2 separate regions of the Homo sapiens genome follow, and region 2 is linked to region 1. The links are contacts of gene promoters, found by promoter capture Hi-C in human tissues and cell types (Jung and others, 2019). All regions are on one chromosome and are shown on one strand. The core of a region is centred on a gene start or on the middle of the fragment in contact, and the rest is flanking DNA. Distances in the headings are between cores, read along the strand shown.

Region 1 (4,515 bases), core at 1,556-4,055:
CCCAGCTTGTAATAGGTTCCAATTTGCTTCCCTTGTCCCTCAGGCCTCGGAGTGATTAAGAGCTTCCTCCTGTTGCTAGCCCCTAGGGACCTCAGCATCCCTTCTTAGTTCCCTTAACCCTGCCCACAGCTCTGTCAATAGCCCTTTCACTAAATTATTTTCAAAATCTCAACTAAATTGGCCTTCTTTTTCCTGCAGGGACCCTGTCTGAAACTAAAGAGACAGGATGCAAAAGTCCTTAAAATTATGTCTGTGAGGAATAGAGGATGTTGGGCCTGGTGGAGAGAAGACTCTAGAAAGCAGGATAGCCTACTTCAGCAAGGTAGTAATAAAAGGCCACCCCAGACTCATTCTCTGGCTCTACCAACAGTGATAGGTACAGAGAGATAAATTTCTACAGAGTAGGTAAAGATGGTTATCCTGGTAGGTCATGAGCTTCAATATTTCTCAGTTGCCCCATCTTAAACTGGATGAGACTATGTCAGGAATGCTGCAAGGAAGAAGTTAGAAACATGGTCTAGAAAAGAGCTTCCCAAGCCAGGGTTTCATGATTTGCCACCAACTGTACACTACTCGATGGGTTACCAAAATAACCAATGTGGGGAAACTTTTGTATGTTTTTGCTGCTTCTCGTTTCAATCTAGGGAATAGAAGTCTAGTTCTTCATCAAGTCTGATAATCCTCAGCGCTGAAGATGTTTTTATACTTTAAGATGACTTACAAACATGAAAATTTCACACAGCATCACAGCTTTCAAAAGGTTATTTCTAATTCATGGAGCAATCTATTAAAAACATTTTTTAGGGGGGAAGAGAAGTTGATTAATGGTTACAAATATACCATTTGATATAAGAAGACCTAGTGTTAGATTGGTAAACTAACTATATTTTACAATAACCTCTTGTATATTTCAAAATATCTAGAATTCCAGTGGTCTAGCATAGAGAAAAGACAAATCTTTAACGTGATGGATATCCCAAGTACAGTGATTTTGTCCGAGGCATGTGAACCAGAGCAACTCCATCTTGAATGGGGCCAGGTAAAACAAGGCTGAGTGAGACCTACTGGGCTGCATTCCCAGAAGGTTAAGGCATTCTAACTTACAGGATGAGATAGGATGTGGGCACAAGATACAGGTCATAAAGACCTTGCTGATAAAACAGGTCGCAGTAAAGAAGTCGGCTAAAACCCACCAAAACCAAAATGGCGACAAGAGTGACCTCTGGTCGTCCTCACTGATACACTCCCAGCAGCGCCAGGACAGTTTACACATGCCACGGCAACGTCCGGAAGTTACCCTATATGGTCTAAAAAGAGGAGACATGAATAATCCACCCCTTGTTTAGCATACCATCAAGAAATAACCATAAAAATGGGCAACCAGCAGCCCCAGGCTGCTCTGTCTATGGAGTGGCCATTCTTTTATTCCTCTACTTTCTTAATAAACTTGCTTTCACTTTACTGTGTGGACTCACCCTGAATTCTTTCTTGCGTGAGATCCAAGAACCCTCTCTTGGGGTCTGGACTGGGACCCCTTTCCTGTGCAATTTGATCTTTACAAATTATATGAATGTATTACATTATCACATGTGCCCCAGAACTATGTACATCATGCATCAACTAAAAAATGTTTAAAACAAAAATGTTTAACTCAGCAACTTCTATCTACACACCAGTCACCACAGTGCTTCTTGAGAACTGCCACCTCGTTTTCAAACCAAAAACCAGGACGCAAAATCTGTGCATGGGAAAAAAAAATATTTTACATGCAAACTACCCTGAAAAAAAAAAAAAAAAAAAAGAATAAGGTCGCCTCAATTCACTCTGGTGGGGAAAAAACAAAGGTTTTTACGAAAGCCCTGAATGCCTGAGTTCACAGCAGGCCCATGACGAAGTTTGTGTCTCACGCAGGTTTTCTCCTTTGGTGGGAGTTTATTGTGTATTACACCGAGGGCACGCTAGGTTTGCCAGTTTTTCGCTCATTCATTCAACAAACACTCGATGTCCACCTACTCCATTAACAGAGCCCTTCTCAGCCCTCGGGATGGACAAAAGATCCCGAAGAGGCCAAAGCCACGACGCCGCTGCCAGAGGACGTCAGCAGGTCCAGGAAACGACCTGATTTTAAGGACCAATGAAGGCAACGAGTAAGAGCGACGGCGCCCAGGAAAGCTGCAGCGGAAACTTGGGAAATGCCAGCCTTCGGGCGCAGAGGGCGGGGCAGGGCCTACTGGATCGCACTGTCTGCGGGCTGGGGCCCCGCCTGGGCTCCGGTCCCGCCGCCTCCGGCCGCCAAGCGGCGCCCGCCCACGGCCCGGCGGGGGCGTTGGCCTGGTCCCCGGCCCAGGAGGGCAGCGCCCGGGCGACCGCGAGCGGGCGGGGTGGCCTCGATGGCCCGCGAGCCCCGGGCTCAGTGTGGGGTGCGCGTCGCTCCTGCCCGACGTACCCGGGAAGCGCGCGCACGCATCGCCGCGCGCCCCACCGCGCCGGGCACCCGCGGCGCGCTCCCGCCCGGTCCCAGTGCCCCGGCCCCTCGGCCCCTACGGCACCCCCGGCTCCTACCGCCCGCCCGGCCGGCCTGGCCGCACTCACCCTCCTTGGCTTTCTTCCTCCGGGCCAGGGTCCCTCCGAGTTTCCCCAAGAAGGAATCATCTTTCTTGCGGGACGGGGGCGACTTGGGAGTGGGAGACTTGGGGACAGAAGGCGACTTCTGCGGGGAGGTGGCCATGGCGCGGCGCAGGCTGCCGCGGGCCGGTCGGGACGCGGAGCTGGCGCTGGGCGGACGCAGCGGGCGGCGGCGGGACTGAGGCTGCGGCTTTCCAAACGGAAGCGGAATTATTCCAAGCATTTGAGGCAGCTCACGCTCGCCTTTCCCTTCCCTCGCTCCCTCCCTCGCTCCCTCCCTCGCGCCGCCCTCTGCCCTGGAAGGAGCTGCGCTCCCGGGGCCGCGCCTTGCGCCCCTGGGTTGCCCCAAGCAGGGAGGATGCCCCAAAACTGCCCCTTGCAGGACAGGAGGACGTGTGTGCCCAGGTTGGGAGCGGTCGAGCCGGAAAGCTTCATTTACCCAGGCTCTGTCCCCACCACACAGCCTGGCGCAAAACACATCTGAGAACCAACCCAACCCTGCTACTCTCCCGGGGTCTTCCAGCCGGCGGCTGGTGAGCTCGCTCTGCCCCAGCACTACTGCCTGTGGGGTTATCAGGCCCACGTCTTGCGCCCACAAGACTGCAGCTCCTGGAAGAAATTATTGCAGTGAACCAAAATGTGTCCAGGCCCCACCAAAGTGGGCAGAACCAATCACTCCTGAACCTATCCATGACCGTCAACCTCCTCGTCTCTACTCCCATCCAAGACTGAGAAGCTTGGAGTGCACAAGGGTAAAGCCGAGGCTTCTTATTCTTGTAAGACATCCGTGTTTCCAGCAGCTTATACAAAGGAAGATCCCACGTGGTGGTGGAAACATGAATGGGAAAAGCACAACCATGAGCTCCTACAGGACTTCCCGCAAAATTTATCCTGCCTAAATAAAAGCAAGAGAGTGACAACCAGACTCATTTGAGATAACAGGGGAGTCATACAAAGCACAGTGTTTGAAGGACTCATACTGGAAATGATTAAAAGGCACGTGTTATTGAGCTTACCCATCTCAAGTTCTCACTCTGGCTCTTTGTCCTTCTGTCTGTCTCTCACACACAGACTCACAGCACCTTGGCAACTGTGTTTCCTCCTTGTGGCCCCTTCTAGGCCACAGCTGATTGAACCTGGGTGAACACCTAATCCAAAGGGCGCTACTGCTTTACTGAAGAGCAGACGATCAGCTGGCCCCAGTTAAGACTGCACTAAGCTGGAGAGACTGTTGTCAGAAGTTGTGCTCGTGACTGATGATCATTCGCAATCAAAACTAGGGTGGCTGTTTCTAGCCACGTGCATGCTGAGGAGTAGGGAAACCAAAGAATGGAGCAAAGAAGTGTGCTCAAGAAGCCACGTGGTCTGAGTAATGGAAACCGTGGGGAGTAGCTGCTTGGACCTTGAATCTTTTCCCAGACCCCACTTGCACTTCCTGCCAGGGCCAGCTGTGCTTCTTCCCAGGAGATGTTACTCAGCCTTTTATTAACCCATCCACAGTTCCTTAAACTAAATAAAGTGACAAGCAACAGTTTCTGAGTAGAACTAAAATTTAACAAAAAGATAGTCAACAGATTCTCAACACCGTATAGGTTCATTTTATCTTAAGAGTCTTAATTTTACCTTTTTTAAAAAAAAAAAAAATCTGCTTTAGTTGGTGCCTCTTACTTAACAGCAGAAAAGTCATGATGTCTGCTAGCCTGGGAAGATTACTACAACTCCTCCTAGACAATAAATCTTAAAGGGATGGTGAGAAGCCAAAATATAAGTGTGTTTTGATTACATCATTAATCATTTTTGTTCAGGATATCAGATATAGGACATCTCCAAAAGCGTATCTCCAGCCCCGAGAGCTCTTGTCAGGGAATTAAGAGACACGTAGCTCAATAG
Region 2 (4,794 bases), core at 1,239-3,738, 530 kb before region 1:
AGCAATGATCAAAGAACCAAGATTTCAAATTGTGAAGCAATTTTTTCCAATGGTAGCATCTGGCTCCTTGGCAGGCGGTGCTGGGAGCTGGGCCCTGTGGCGGGCAGCCGTCCAGGCCTGCCACATGGTAAGGCTCGGCCAGGCAGGGCACGCAGTGCGGCATTGCAGCTGCTCCCACAGGCACCAAAGGACAATCGCTCTGCACTGGGCCTGGGGCTGTGGGGCAACAGTGCCCCTAGAGGCAGCACTGCCATGGGCAGAGAGAAGGGGGAGGTCTGGAGAAAGCTGGCTGCTCTAAAAGGCTCCTCGCCCTCTCATTTGCAGGCAAGTGCCTTCTGGCTAAGACCCTTGAAGCCAGTCCCATTGACATTCAGAGGCTTGGGGTGGGTGGGGAAGCTGGGCCAACCGTGAGACAGCTCCCCAGCAAGGAAGCCAGCATGTAGGGGGAGTGAACGAGCTGCCCTCAGAAAAGAGTCTTTGAGTGTGTTCACTTCGGCCCTTATGCCCTGCCCAACCCAATGATGAGACAGCAGCTGTAGCCTGCCTGCCACAGCTGTTTTAAATAAGAATAATAGGAATAAACTCAGCCGTGGCTCTTCAAGTTACTTCCCGCTAATTATGGCATATATTTACATCTACAAAATAGAAGATTTTTAAAAACACCACCAAGGGCCCCTTTATTGTGCAGATTGGCACCCCTATTTGAATTTCATAAACATTTGGCACTTCAAAGAATCTTAAAAGCTTGCTCTAATTATGCTATGCACTGGTTGAAAGGCTGCCCGTCTGCACTGCAAATTCCTACAAATACCAGCATTTAGTTTTTCAAAAATTCAATTAATATCACCCACACAACTTCAGGTGACCACTAGTGGCAACTTCACATAGTGGCTAGGATGAAAGAGTCAGGTCTCAGCTCCAACTACAAAGCAGCTACACGGGCCAGTTCTTTCCAATAGAGGCAAGTAATGAATTCTGGGTGCCCAGCTGAGCTGGCCCCAAACCTTTCTCATTCATCAGGTGTGTGAACACTGGCCCAGACACCACCTTTCCCAGGAAACAGGACCTTTTTATGGTTTCAAGGTTTTGTGCATGAAAAGTTTTTCATAGAACAACAATAACAACCCCAAGCCAATGATACGTAAGTGAACTAACAAGTGCAGAGCTGCCAGATAAAACGGGGAACCCAGTTAACTCACATCTCAAATGAACAGCAAATACTTTTTCAGTACATATGAACATATATACCAAATACTGTATAGGACATGTACACCAAAAAAGTATTCACTGTTTATTTGAAATGCAAATTTAACTGGGCAACCTGATAAATCTGACAACTCTACTTATCAAGAAACCTTTACCACAGAGAATAAAAACTGAGACTTACCCTCAAATTCTCATTGCTGTAAAAGGCATCATATGTCCAAGACACTTTAGGTAGGGAAAATGAAGTTGCAGGAAACACTTGGAGCATAATCCCTTTTTAGTAAAAACAAGTGATGTATATGTATACGTATAATGGTTGTAGATACATACGTATAAGTCTAAAAGGATACATTCCAAATTTTGGGATCTGGCTGACCACAGGCATGTATGTGTGCAAGGAGGATCTCACTTTTTATTCTATATTCTTTTCAACTGCTCAAACTATTCATAACAAACCTGCATCACTTTTTTAATTTAAAAAGTAAATTAACATGGGGTGGACTGGGGGGTAGGAGGTACCGTGGATCTTTACCTGCACATGGAGAGGGGGTCTCTCACACCACCAAGGGCCTAGGTTCAGTTTTAAGCAACTGACTGAGATCCCTGAAGTGTCCAGTTAATCCAACTACGCCTTGCAAAACTGGGTCTGAAAATATGCAGCCACCCCGACTATGGCACATCAATTCTTTCCTTCTCAGGTTTTTCTTGAGGTGAAATGGTAAAGGTGACAGCATGAATCAAGCTAATTGTGGCAGCAGCTCAGGTGGGATCGTGGCTTAGCATCTCAGTCTGTAGCCACAGAAGGGAGTGGAATTAAATGGCCCCAGAAGGAAGGGACAGACCCCTGACCTGGGCTTTCTTAGCAATCACAGAGACAAAGGACCCAGGACAGAAAGTCTTTTAGGAATAGCTGTTGGAATGAATTCCTCCAGGTCAAGGCAACTCCCAATGCAAGAGATTCTGCCCGGAAGCCCTGAAGACTTCAGAGTCAAAGGTTTAAAAAAAAGAGAAGTATCTGTGGTTTGATAGAAGAGGATGGGAGGAAAAGCAATGTAAGCTCTTGTGCTCATTTTCCAAGCTATCCTATCCTGTGAAATCCATGATTTCATTCCTACTACGTTTTAGGCTTTCAGAGGATTCAGGTATGGTCTTTTGAAGTGAATGCCCCTGTGACCAGGGTTTCCACCCACATCTCTCCCTATTCTCTGAGTTCGGTAAGCCCCAGTGGCCATGGGGACCTCTCGCCACCTCCCAGGACTCCTTGTCTGTACATGAGTATCCACTGCCCTGAAAACTCCTTCTCACTCCCCTTGCACTGACCAAATTCTATCAAGATTCTGTTTAAATGCCATGTCTTTGTGAGCCCTTCCGAAATGTTCTCAGGCAAAAAGGGTTCCACCTCTGTGCTTCCACAGCAACTTCTGCCCACTTCCACTACAGCTCCCACCCCTCGGTGCTGTTGTTCACCTGCCCACATGTCTGCCATCCCTCACCAGACCCTGAGCCTGCAAATCAGAACTCTCAATCACATCTGCTTCCCAGTTTTCCAGAAGCAAAGACGACATTGGCAAATGTTTGTTGAATGACTTTCTAGCAACGAGATGGCCCAGAAAAGCTTTCAAGTGAGTCTCTTGAGGTCTCCTTTTCCTCCTACGAATTGCTTGCGGATGATTCCTCAACAAACTCTCAGGTGGTAATGTGAGTTGGCAATGTGGCAGAGTGCCCAATGCACAGCAATTTCTTTAGGACCATTTACTGATTGAAATAAAATAACTTTCCAGGTAACTTAAAAAAAAAAAGCCTTGAAAATCTATTATATACATTGCAGCACTGAACACAGGCCACAGACAGGGTACGCTCCCTTAGAAAGGCCTACAAAGAAGTTTGGCATCCAGGGTTCGGGAACCAGGAAGGAGCAATCCCAAGCAGCAGTCACCACAGAAAGTGCTCACAAGCTCCAGATATTTTTCTTACGAAAACAAACCAAAATGGGCAGATATACAAATGTATTGATTTCTCTCTTCCTGTGCTTACAATAGCAGGGCCTATCAAGAGATAATTAAAAAAAAAAAAAAAAGACTCATGTAACCACAGTCTACTTAAAATTTAACATGTATTAGCCCCCAAGTACCTCTGAATATCGTGATACTTCTCACTAATCTTTCTTCTACTTAAATCATTTCATCACTTAATATTGTTCAGTTAACTTTAAAACGCATTTTGAGATGAGACAGAAGTAGGGAGAAATGGAAAACTTATTGAGCTGAAAGGCCCCTCCTTCCTGATAGCAGTTCAAAACATGTGGAAAGCAAACGATTTCGTATTGTTAACTCCCTCTTCCATGAATAGCAACAGGACGTTTGGTTCCAAATGACAGACTCAGGTCTACAATTCCAATCTAAATCATGCAGAATACAATTAGAAACAAGCTGAGACTCCAATGGGGGTGGGGTCTGTTCTGCTGGGTTATTGTGCGCCCAGTTTCTTCTCTTTAAATAAAACCCAGTTTTATGTAGAGTGACTGTCATTTTGTTGAACAAATGTGATTTCATTTCTACCAAGACAAAAGCATCTTCTAATGGCTGTCCTCTTTCCAGGTAACTTGCTTCCCCTTTTTTTGTTTTATAAAATCTTCTCACATCTGCTATGGTTAGTAAAAGTAGGCTTGCTTTTTCTTCCTTTAAAAATAATAGGTTAAGAAAGTAAATTGGCCAGGCATGGTGGCTCACGCCTGTAATCCCAGCACTTTGGGAGGCCAAGGCGGGTGGATCACCTGAGGTCAGGAGTTCAAGACCAGCCTGGCCAACATGGCGAAACCCCATCTCTACCAAAAATACAAAAATTAGCTGGGCACAGTGGCAGGTGCCTGTAATCCCAGCTACTCGGGAGGCTGAGGCAGGAGAATCGCTTGAACCCGACAGGCAGAGGTTGCAGTGAGCCGAGACTGTGCCACTGCACTCCAGCCTGTGAGACAGAGCGAGACTCCATCTCAAAAAAAAAAAAAAAAAGCAAATTAAGTAACTATGTAGACAGTATTGTTTACACTGAATGATCATAATCCCAAGAATTTTAAAATACAAAACAATTTTAAATAAGTATAGGATAACATCATATATCCTGGTTTCTAAGATATGACTAATTTGATAATGATTAGAGTGAAAGCAGAAATATTAAATGTATATTTAAAAATTTGTTATAACCTGGCAACATGATACAAATCCGTAAGATTTCACTTTCATATTGCTTTCTTCTTTATTATTCCAATCAAAGTTTAAGACTAAGCCTTTACTGTACTAATTATTATTATGAATAGTTTTGGGTTATAATGTTTATGAATAGAATGTTAAAAGCATACAGCTTTCTTTAGAGCAGTGTTTCCAATCTTGACACCCTTGAACATTATTAGGACAGGAAATAGAATTCTGAGGCCCCTCCAAAGGTATTAGTCTCAATTGCATGTCTTATTTGGTTAAATCTGTAATTTTATTTCCTTCTGTAAACTTCATATAGCTAGAAATTAACTGCTTTTGACAGTCAGCTGTGAGCTACACTTGGGTTTTTGTCCTTCGGGATGCATGACTGAATCAT

The links. Contacts are between HindIII fragments. The study calls those that stand out against the background at their distance.
Region 2: a contact is called between a fragment that was not itself captured here and the fragment with the promoter of PARVA in region 1, in 1 of the 25 tissues and cell types used here (lymphoblastoid cells).

What each region holds. Positions count from the first base shown.
Region 1 is chr11:12,375,861-12,380,375 of GRCh38, reverse strand. PARVA (parvin alpha) reads right to left here and starts at 2,805. Exons shown (of 13, transcript NM_018222.5): 1 at 2,593-2,805. The coding sequence starts at 2,728. The HindIII fragment of the contact is 6,514 bases long and covers 1-4,311 here.
Region 2 is chr11:12,910,168-12,914,961 of GRCh38, reverse strand. All of the region lies in intron 10 of TEAD1 (TEA domain transcription factor 1), which reads right to left. Among named protein-coding and RNA genes, the nearest start is that of TEAD1-AS1, 10 kb to the left of the region's middle. RefSeq lists enhancers at 1-166, 167-1,031. The HindIII fragment of the contact is 4,507 bases long and covers 235-4,741 here.